3 separate regions of the Homo sapiens genome follow, and all the other regions are linked to region 3. The links are contacts of gene promoters, found by promoter capture Hi-C in human tissues and cell types (Jung and others, 2019). All regions are on one chromosome and are shown on one strand. Each heading gives the region's core, a stretch centred on a gene start or on the middle of the fragment in contact. The rest is flanking DNA. Distances are from core to core; before and after follow the strand shown. Region 1 overlaps KDM2A (lysine demethylase 2A). Region 2 has its middle 10 kb from the start of KDM2A. Region 3 holds the start of PELI3 (pellino E3 ubiquitin protein ligase family member 3).

Evidence for each region. The method cuts DNA at HindIII sites, captures the fragments that hold promoters and counts their contacts. A contact is called where the count stands out against the background at its distance.
Region 1: a contact is called between a fragment that was not itself captured here and the fragment with the promoter of PELI3 in region 3, in 1 of the 25 tissues and cell types used here (hippocampus).
Region 2: a contact is called between a fragment that was not itself captured here and the fragment with the promoter of PELI3 in region 3, in 1 of the 25 tissues and cell types used here (dorsolateral prefrontal cortex).

The regions. Positions count from the first base shown.
Region 1 is chr11:67,231,878-67,235,175 of GRCh38, reverse strand. It overlaps KDM2A (lysine demethylase 2A), which reads right to left. Exons shown (of 21, transcript NM_012308.3): 12 at 3,216-3,298. Among named protein-coding and RNA genes, the nearest start is that of GRK2, 33 kb to the left of the region's middle. The HindIII fragment of the contact is 4,272 bases long and covers 1-3,298 here.
Region 2 is chr11:67,107,122-67,110,486 of GRCh38, reverse strand. No RefSeq gene overlaps it. Among named protein-coding and RNA genes, the nearest start is that of KDM2A, 10 kb to the left of the region's middle. The HindIII fragment of the contact is 4,720 bases long and covers 1-3,365 here.
Region 3 is chr11:66,465,284-66,469,073 of GRCh38, reverse strand. It overlaps PELI3 (pellino E3 ubiquitin protein ligase family member 3), which reads right to left and starts at 2,169. Exons shown (of 8, transcript NM_145065.3): 1 at 2,047-2,169; 2 at 794-946; 3 at 170-241. The coding sequence starts at 945. RefSeq lists silencers at 1,682-2,031, 2,042-2,251 and enhancers at 3,203-3,702, 3,703-3,790. The HindIII fragment of the contact is 25,810 bases long and covers 1-3,790 here.

The sequences.
Region 1 (3,298 bases), core at 716-3,215, 770 kb before region 3:
TTCCTTTCTTTTTTCTTTTTTTTTTTTTTTTGAGATGGAGTCTTGCTCTGTCACCCAGGCTGGAGTGCAGTGGTGCCATCTGGGCTCACTGCAAGCTCCGCCTCCCGGGTTCACGCCATTCTCCTGCCTCAGCCTCCCAAGTAGCTGGGAATACAGGCGCCCGCCAAGACACCTGGCTAATTTTTGTATTTTTTCTAGAGACGGGGTTTCACCATGTTAGCAAGGATGGTCTTGATCTCCTGACCTCATGATCCGCCCGCCTCAGCTTCCCAAAGTGCTGGGACTACAGGCATGAGCCACCATGCCCGGCCTACTTTCTTTTTGAGACAAGGTCTCACTCTTTTGCCCAGACTGGAGTGCAGTGGTGAGATCACAGCTCAGTGAAGCCTCAACTTGCCCAGCTCAAGTGATCCTCCCACTTCAGCCTTCCACGTAGCTGGGATCACAAACACACACCACCACACCTGGATAATTTTGTATTTTTGTGGAGGTGAGGTTTCGCCACGTTGCCCAGGCTGGTCTCAAGAGATCTGCCTGCGTCTGCCGCCTAAAGCACTAGGACAAGAGGTGTGAGCCACTGGGCTCAGCCCAAGTCAGTACTTTTTAATGTCCTATTTTTTCACTTAATCCTCTTCCAACTCTATATTCTATGACTTGTTCTTCAACGCCTTAGAACCTAAAAAAAGCCCTTTTATCACAGCACTGAAATGCACTATTTTTCCTTGGAATATTATGAATATCTCATCTACCACTTTTCCCCTCATCTCTTCTACTAATTATTCCTGAAAGCCAGATAGGTTACAACAGCAAACAATTCCTTTCTCTGCAGGAAGGGTAAACTGTACTAGCTTTGTCCCCCACTGAAGTATAGCCATCAGTGCTATAAGCACCAAGTTTTCTAGCACTTGAAAGTCCCCAGCTGTGCAGTGATTCAGCAGCTACCCAATCTAATGCTTTTTTCTTTTGAGTGATGCTTAGATTCTCAAGGTATTCAAGCTCTAAGCTTGCTATATCTTTTCTGAGATTTAGCATAACTGATCAAATATAGGAATAATTAATCTATTTGATCTTAAGTGAAACTACACCTGCAGAGCTGGAATCTAAATCTGTTGTCTTCTGACGTCAGCTACATTTTGACTGTGGTTTTGGGTAAACGAGAAGCTGTGGACAAGTCTCTGGAGGGAGAATTCAAACACTGTCGGCCTGTGTAGTCATCTCACTGGCTACTTGTTCCTCATGCTCTGGCCTCTGCCACTATATCTTAGCCAGTGATGGCAGTCACGTTTTTCAGTGGTCCCTGATAAACACAAGCAAGCTATCTCCGGACACTTTTCATAATGCTAAGCCTCCTCTTTAGATGTCTCTTCTTAACTCCCCTCTCTTCTTGCTGACTCTGCTTAATATTTAACCCAAATCTTTCTACTTTTTCCTTTGGTATACCATTGTACCACCCTTTCACCTCAAATCTCCTTATTTAGCTACTTTAGTTAAACTACTCCAATGGATTTGTTGTTGTTGTTGTTGAGACAGGGTTTCACTTCCATCACCCAGGCTGGAGTGCAATGGCGCAATCTCGGCTCACTGCAACCTTTGCCTCCCAGGTTCAAGGGATTCTCCTGCCTCAGCCTCCTGAGTAGCTGGGATTACAGGTGTCTGCCACCACACCCAGCTAATTTTTGTATTTTTAGTAGAGACGGGGTTTTACCATCTTGGCCAGGCTGATCTTGAACTCCTGACCTCGTGATCTACCTGCCTCGGCCTCCCAAAGTGCTGGGATTACAGGCATGAGACATCGCACTGAGCCTTTTTTTGTATTTTTAGTAGAGATGGGGTTTCACCATGTTGGCCAGGCTGGTCTCGAACTCCTGACCTCAGGTGATCCTCCCACCTTGGCCTCTCAAAGTGCTAGGATTACAGGTGTGAGCCACTGTGCCTGGCCCCCCTAAATTTATAAAATGGCTTAAAAGTAGCTTAAAATAATCTATGTGAGGTTTTCAAAATAACATTACAACTTGTAGATTAGCTTTCTAATATACATACCCATTGTTCCAAACACTGATTTAAAAATAAAATTGCTATTTCCAGCTTTACAATTCTTGGTCTTCACATTAATTGTTACTTAGGAGGAAAGACTTAAAATAATTTCCTCCAGTTTAGATAGCTCAAGGTTGGGTGTGGAGGCTCATGCCCGTAATCCCAGCACTTTGGGAGGCTGAGGCAGGCAGATCACCTGAGGTCAAGAGTTCGAGACCAGCCTGGCCAACATGGTGAAACCCCATCTCTATCAAAAATATAAAAAAATTAGCCAGGCATGGTGGCACGTGTCTGTAATCTCAGCTACTCAGGAGGCTGAGGCACGAGAACTGCTTGAACCCGGGAGGTGGAGGTTGCAGTGAGCCGAGATCTTGCCATTGCACTCCAACCTGAGCGACAGAGTGAGACTCCGTCTCAAATAAATTAATTAATTAATTAAAATTAAAAAAAAAAAAAAAAGCTCAAGTCTGGATTCCTTAAGAAAAATATACAATATGAAGGGGAGCTGGAGGAGGGATAGCATTAGGAGAAATACCTAACATAAATGACGAGTCAATGGGTGCAGCAAACTGACATGGCACATGTATGTCTATGTAATAAACCTGCACGTTGTGCACATGTACCCTAGAACTTAAAGTATAATTAAAAAATAAATAAACATAAAACTTGATAAAGCAATGGGATGAATTATTTTAAAATGATGCTTTTCCCAATGTATTTAAGTCTTGATGCTAGATAAATTTGAATCTAAAGAGGCTAAAGCTACTCAACGTTAACCCAGCATAGAACAATTTCATTTCTCTCAATCTGCTTAGGATGAGACTCCTATCAGTCACTTTTGTCCTGAGTTTTATCTCAAGGTAACTTAAGTTTAATGTAACATTTCTTATATAAATATTTTCTTTGGGTCACTTTATTTTTGGGGTCAGCCTGAAACCTATGTTTAAGACTAAATTTATAAGTCTTCAATGAACACATAAATGTTAGTATTTTCAAAACAGGGACATAACCTCATTCTAGTAATGAAAACACTGAGCAGCAATAACAAACACACATGCATATTAACTTCTCTCTGACTGAACCAGAGATCACCCAAAATTCCTATATTTTCTCCCTCTGAATCTGGAAGCTGACTGCCATAGCTGGATCAGTAGCTGTCATGTAACACATCAAACCCTTACCTTTACATCAGCAATGAGAGCATCTTCATCTTCTATCCCTGTGGGGACACATTTCTTGTGCAGTGGCAGAGACTCCAACTTAT
Region 2 (3,365 bases), core at 788-3,287, 640 kb before region 3:
ACCATGTTGGCCAGGCTGGTATCAAACTCCTGACCTCAGATGATCTGCCTGCCTCGGCCTCCCAAAGTGCTAGGATTACAGGAGTGAGCCACTGCTCCCGCTCGTTTTTGGTGTTTTTTTTTGAGACAAGGTCTTGCTCTGTTGCCCAGACTGGAGTACAGTGGAGTAATCTCGGCTCACTGTAATCTCTGCCTCCTGGGTTCAAGCGATTCTCCTGCCTCAGCCTCCCAAGTAGCAGGGATTACAGTTGCACACCACCGCACCCGGCTAATTTTTGTATTTTTAGTAGAAACAGGGTTTTACCATGTTGGCCAGGCTGGTCTCAAACTCCTGACCTCAAGTGTTCTGCCCACCTTGGCCTCCGAAAGTGCTGGGATTACAGGCATGAGCCACCGCGCCCAGACAGGAGTGCAGCTTTTGATGTGATATTATAAGCTTAATATCTCCAATCAATTATTTTTCATTATATCTCTTTAATTATAATGTACATTATATTTAAACAGTGTAACTTTAAAATGACAATATTGTTTTTTCCCCCAAAAAATGCTTGCTAAATATTTAAACTCTGAAAATGTATTTGGTCTTTACCTTCTTTCTGGCTAAATCTATTTTCACACTCTCTGGGGGACTGCAAGAAAATATTGACTGAGTTTAAGGTAAGATTTTCATGGTTTTTTTTTTTTTTGCAATTATACTTGATTTGCCACAGCTTAGAGTTCATGTTCGATTTGGTCATAATTTCTAGATCTACTTTTACTGTTGATCAAATAATCTTCCTATTGGTGAGCTTCATATCATTAACTTTCTATTCCTGCATAATGTTATTGGTGGAAGAAATGTGGGAGACCCTACATCTATACCTCATTCCTTTATTACTGGAGCTGATGACAGGATTTACCCATCTGTCTATTTATTTCATTTTTTTAAATTTTATTTTTTTATTATTATAATTCTTATTTTTTGGGATGGAGTCTCACTCTATCACCCAGGCTGGAGTGCGGAAGTGCAATCTCAGCTCACTGCAGCCTCTGCTTCCTGGGGCTTCCTGGGGGTTCACGAGGTTCTCCTGCCTCGGCCTCCTGAGTAGCTGGGTTTATAGGCGTGCGCCACCACACCTGGCTAATTTTTGTATTTTCAGTAGAGACAGGATTTCACCATGTTGGCCAGGATGGTCTCAATCTCTTAACCTCAAGTGATCCGCCCACCTTGGCCACCCAAAGGGCTGGGACTACAGGCGTGAGCCACTGCGCCCGGCCCCCTAGCTAATTTTTAAATTTTTTGTAGAGATGGGGGTCCCACTATGTTGCCCAGACTAGTCTCAAACTCCTGGCCTCATGGGATCCTCCTGCCTCAGCCTTCCAAAGGCTGGCTTGGGTTTACAGAAATGAGTCACTGTGCCTGGCCCGATATATTTTTAGTTTATATGTTTCCATGGGTGAAGGTTTATGCTTTGCGTAAATGTTGGTAGTTTCTATAATATGTCTTACTATTTTACATTTCTTTCCTTTTTTTTTTTTTTTTGACAAGGTCTTTCCTTCTGTCACCCAGGCAGGCTGGAATGCACTGGCACGATCATAGCTCACTGCAGCCTCAACCTCCTGGGCTCGAGTCCCTGTGTTGTCCCAAGCCGATCTCAAAACCCCTGACCTCAAGTGAGGCCACCTGACTTCCACACCTCATCCTCCCAAAGTGCTGAGATTACAGGGGTGAGCCACCATGCCCAGCGGTATTCAGTATTTTATTTTCTTTTTTTTGTTTGTTTTGGAGACAGAGTGTCACTCTGTTGTCCAGGCTGGAGTGCAGTGGCACAATCTCAGCTCACCGAAACCTCTGCCTCCTGGTCTTAAGCCATCCTCCCACCTCAGCCTTCCCAGTAGCTGGGACTACAGGTACACACCACCATGCCCAGCTAATTTTTTTTTTTTTTTTTTGAGATGGAGTCTTGCTCTATCACTCAGGTGGAAAGCAGCAATGGCACAATCTCTGCTCACTGAAACTTCCGCCTCCTGAGTTCAAGCAATTGTTCTGCCTCAGCCTCTCAAGTAGCTGGGATTACAGGCATGCACCACCAAGCCTGGCTAATTTTTTTTGTATTTTTAGTAGAGACAGAGTTTCACCATGTTGCCCAGGCTGATTTCGAACTCCTGACCTCAAGTGATCCGCCCGCCTCAGCCTCCCAAAGTGCTGGGATTACAGGCGTGAGCCACCACACCCAGCCAATTTTGTATTTTTTGTAGAGATGTGGTGTCACTATGTTGCCCAGGCTGGTCTCAAACTCCCAAAGTGCTGGGATTACAGGCATGAACTACCATGCCCACCACCGGAAGTATTTTCTATTTCATTTTACTATTTACTACTCATGTAATATATCCTATAATGTATTTTATGCATTTTTCTTGTCAATGAATTCAGAAAAGTGGACAAATGGAATACGCAATTCTGACTTGCCATAACATAATGTGGAATCCTCAGTGGCTTCCTTTTTCTGAAACCACATTGTGCCTCTTGATGGGACCATATTTCTTTCTTTTTTTTTTTTTTTTTCTTTGAGACAGAGCCTTACGCACTCTGTCGCCCAGGCTGGAGTGCAGTGGCGCGATATCATATCAGCTCACTGCAACCTCCACCTCCTGGGTTCAAGCAAGTCTCCTGCCATAGCCTCCAGAGTAGCTGGGATTACAGGTGCACACCACCATGCCCAGCTAATTTTTATATTTTTAGTAAAGATAGGGTTTTACCTTGTTGGCCAGCCTGGCCTGGAACTCTTGACCTTAGGTGATCCACCCACCTCAACTTCCCAAAGTGCTAGGATTACAGGCATGAGCCACTATGCCTGGCCTCCATGTGTATTTAAGTTGCTCCTTAATACACAGGCATAGGCATATAATTGTGATGCTTTTGATAGGACAATGCCCATAATTTTCACTGCTTTCTCTTTGTTCTCTGGTGTATTTCTTTTCTTTTATCTTCTTGTGTGTGTGTGTGTATGTGTGTGTGTGTGTGTGTGACAGTTTCGCCCTTGTTACCCAAGGTGGAGTGCAGTGGCGCGATCTTGGCTCACTGCAACCTCTGCCTCCTGGGTTCAAGCGATTCTCCTGCTTCAGCCTCCCGAGTAGCTGGGATTACAGGCACACACCACTGTGCCTGGCTAATTTTGTACTTTTAGTAGAGATGGGGTTTCACCATGTTAACCAGGCTGGTTTCGAACTCCTGACCTAGGTGATCCGCCCACCTAGGCCTCCCAAAGTCCTGGTATTACGGTCGTGAGCCACTGCGCCTGGCCTCTTGTTTTTGAGATGGAGTCTTGTTTTGTCACCCAGGCTGGAGTGCAGTGGCGCGATCTCGGCTCACTGCAACCTCCACCT
Region 3 (3,790 bases), core at 920-3,419:
GCAAAGACCAGGAAGGGATGAGGTTGGCCAGGCCGCCAGATCACGTTGCTTCCTCTCTCCTGGCCTTGGCTTTCTCATCTGTAGTGTGAGGGTCAGCTGTGGCTTAGTGAAAGCGCACTAGACCTAGAGTAAGAAAGACCTGGGTCCAAATCCCAGCCCTGCCACTTACCAGCTGTGTGCCCTTGGGCCAGTCACTTCCCCTCTCTGAGCCTCGGTTTCCTCACCTCCTTCCTCACAGCATCTTTGTGAAGATTGAAATGAAATAATGTCCATGAAAGGGCTTGGCACAGGCCTGCCTCCCAGAACACTCGATATGTGCTAGGCGCTGTTCTATGTACTTTACAGAAATCACCTCATTCATTTCTTCCAACAACCCTCTGAGGAAGGGATTATTATCATCCCCATTTGCAAAACAGGGGAAACAGAGGCACAGGGAAGTTCAGCAACTTGCAGAGGCAGGATTTGAACCAAGCAGTTTTGCTGGAGAACCAGAGTTCTTCACCCCACACCACACACACTAGGTGCTTTAGGAAAGGCAGCTGGTGTTAACATTTTTCTCATCTGATCAGGAAGTTGGGTGGTTAGAGTTGTCACAGTACTTTGTGAAAAATGGGAAGATAAAATAATAATTATGAATTGAGGTGGGTTTGGTCAATTTTGTCTTTCAGCTAGGAAGGTGAGGAGGGACAAACAGCTGAAGGCCCTATGTGGGGGGAGGAGGGGTCGGGCCCTTGTTCTGGCTGCGTTGGGTGGGTGTCTGGTGCTTCACCCCTTCTAGGCCAGGGATGCTCACCCCAGGACGATGAGTTCACCATACTTGATGGGCTCCTCGCCTGGCTGCGCATCTTCACCGGGAGAGGAGAGAACGCAAGAGCCCTTGTTCCCCCGGTGCTGGAGGTCTGAGGTTCGGGGGGACCCCACTTCAGGGTTTCCTTCCAGCACCATTCTGGGCAGAGTGGGAGAGAAAAGAGCTTTGTAGGTTCCCACCCCAGCCCGGCTCAATTCCAGCTGCAGCCTGCTGCAGGGCCGCCTAGGCTAAGGCAAGGGTGACCTTTCACCGCCTCTACTGCTATGGCAACCACTTCCCCTCTGCCTCCTCTAAACTGCCCGAGGTTGCTGGGATACCAGGGAGGGGTGGCACAGTGAAGAGAGTCAGGATATTCAGTGGTGCCAAAGAGATGGACCAACTTGGGGTGGCCAGAGGCTGCTTTTTGGCCAAGATCCCAGTCTGGGATGTGCTTCAAAGCGGGGCACCCAATGAGTTGGGGGCCGTTACCCCTCATCTCAGACTCAGTTCCTGCTTATAGCTCTTAGCCTCTGGACCTCTGATTTAGCCTCTCTGACAGGTTCTTTGAATCTACCTGTCCATCTGAATCTTTCTTGCCCCTTTGAGGTCTAGGCCTCTGTCTGTCCATCTGCTTTCTCAATGACTCTCTGTCCTCCCAGCCGCTGTCCTTTTTGCCGTCTCTCTCCCCCCATTCCCCATCTCTGCCTGTCTGCCCGCCTCCGCCTCACCATCTGCCTCAGTCTCCCCATCTCGGCCTCCCCCTGCGGGTAGGCCAATAGACTCCTCCTGGGTGCGCGCTCTTCCCTCCCTCAGGTGTCTGTCTGCGTCCCCAGCCGCCCGGGTCTCAGGAGGCCTGCGGAGGCGGCGCTCCCCCCTCGAGCTCGGGCTGCAGCACAGCCGTCTCCCGCAGGCAGCCCGTTTGGAAAACATCCCCGCGCCAGAGGGACCGCGCCGGGGCAGGCCCGCGCCCTGCGCCCCGGGCGGGCAGAACGGGAACCGCGGCCCAGCACCTACGCAGGTCCACACCCGGCGGCCCCTCCGCACAACACGCGCGCGTGCACGGCCCCGCACGCCCCGGGCCCGGACGGCGCAGAGACCACCCGCACCCGCGACCGCAGGGACGCGCGGGCGCGCAGCAGCCACCGGCGCCCGCCCTCGGACCCACTCCCTCCACCACCCCCAGACACGCAAACACGCCCCCCGCGCCCGCCGGGGCCCGCCTGGCGCAGCCCCCGCCCCCTCCGCCCCGGCGGCCTCACCTGGCCACGCTCCGGGCCCCGCTGGGCGCCGCTCCCTCCCCGCCTAGCCCCTGCTCGGCCCCGGGCCGCTGCGGCGGGATGGGCCCGGCCCGCGGCGGCTCCGCGCTGCCTCGTCACGGGGACACCCAGGGCCGGGGGAGGGGGATGAGCGCGAACAGCCACGCTCCGCCCCCTGTCCGGAGGCCCCGCCCCATTTTCCCCGCCCCTAGGAGAGCTCCGCCTCGCTCCAGACTCCGCCTCTTGCGGCGATGCTCAGCCTTCGTAGGCGGAGCTCCGCCCCTTCGCAGGAGACCACGCCCTTCCCCTGGTACCGCCCTCTGACCAGGGAAGCCCCGCTCTCCACTCCGTCTGAGGGACTCCCTTGCCCCTCCTAGCCGGCTCAGGACTCCCCCGTAGTCTACACGACCCCTCCCCCATTTCAGACTCCCCAAACTCCGCCTCCATTTCCGGGGACTCCGGGGTTCTCCCAGAGACATGGGCGCCCCTCCCCACTGTCGGTCAGGGCCCTCACACGGCGCTGGAGGCCCCTTCCCTAGCCTTAGGCCCGGGACTACGCACCCCCAGCTCCGACACCCCGCCTACCATCTGGGGACGCCACGCAATTAGAGGAGAGGAGGAAAATGCTAAAGGCAAAGGGGGTGTGCGGCAGCGGTGGAGGCCGGGGAAAGCAGCTGCAGTTGACCAGAGTCGCAGACCTGTCTTCCAGCCCAGCTCGGGCACCCCCCATTCCCCTCCCCTCAGTCCCCTCCCCTCCGCCAGGATGCACACACCCCCCGCTGTGCTGCAAAGGAAAGAGAGTTTTGGGGGAGCACCGCCCCTTCTGGGCCTGGGGCTTGCGAGAGATCTATCAGTCTACGTTAGGCGCTGTGCGCTGTGCTTTGAGCAAATTAAACCCTTTACTTTAATCCTGGGAGGCAGGCACGATAGTTGCCCATTTTACAGATGAGGAAATAGATTTACAAAAGTGACTTGCTTGTTGTAGTTTGCTAGAAACGGGCCAAGAGAGAATCTCAGCTGTATGAGTGGCTTCAGTCTCAACTCCTAACTTCGTACCTTGTCGTTCTGACTAGGGATGGAGCCTCAGAGGTGCAGAAGAGAAACCTTGTCTGCATCAGGTAAGGTCCCTATTGCTCAGTACTCTTGGTCTGGAACTATAAAGGCTGGATTATAGTTCCAGATCAAGTCTTTGGTCTTGTGGGGGGCGGTGGGGGTGTTTAATGAGAAAATCAAGGAAGACTGCACAGAGGAGGTGGCTTTTGACTTCCATTATGAAGGATGCATGTTTAGTTTGCCTAAACATTCCTGAGAGGGAGCCGCTGCCACTCCCACCCCCACAAACTTGTTGCACCTGAAGTTCCCCATCTACCAGACTCCCCTGGGGCCCTACTATATCCACCCCGCTAACTCCTCCACCTAAAAATAGCCAAAGATACCAACTGCTTTGCCAACTGTTCTGGGGCCCAGCGGCTAGATGAAACAAGAAAGCAGCCGACGGCACATCCTTTAGGGGAAAAGACACTCGTTAGTCACAGAGAATCTCCCTGCGAGACTTCCACCAAGCAGGACACCACCAGACCGCTGGGCTGCTGGCTGCAGGTCACACAAACCCTGTGACACAGGATAGCTGCCCTCACTGATGCCACCAGAGGCGTCCATTGTGCTGGGTGTGCACGGGGACCCTGGGACAGCCTCACTCCCTTGTGTACCCCCAGCTTTTAATGCATTGCCTGCCAGAGCAGGTCCT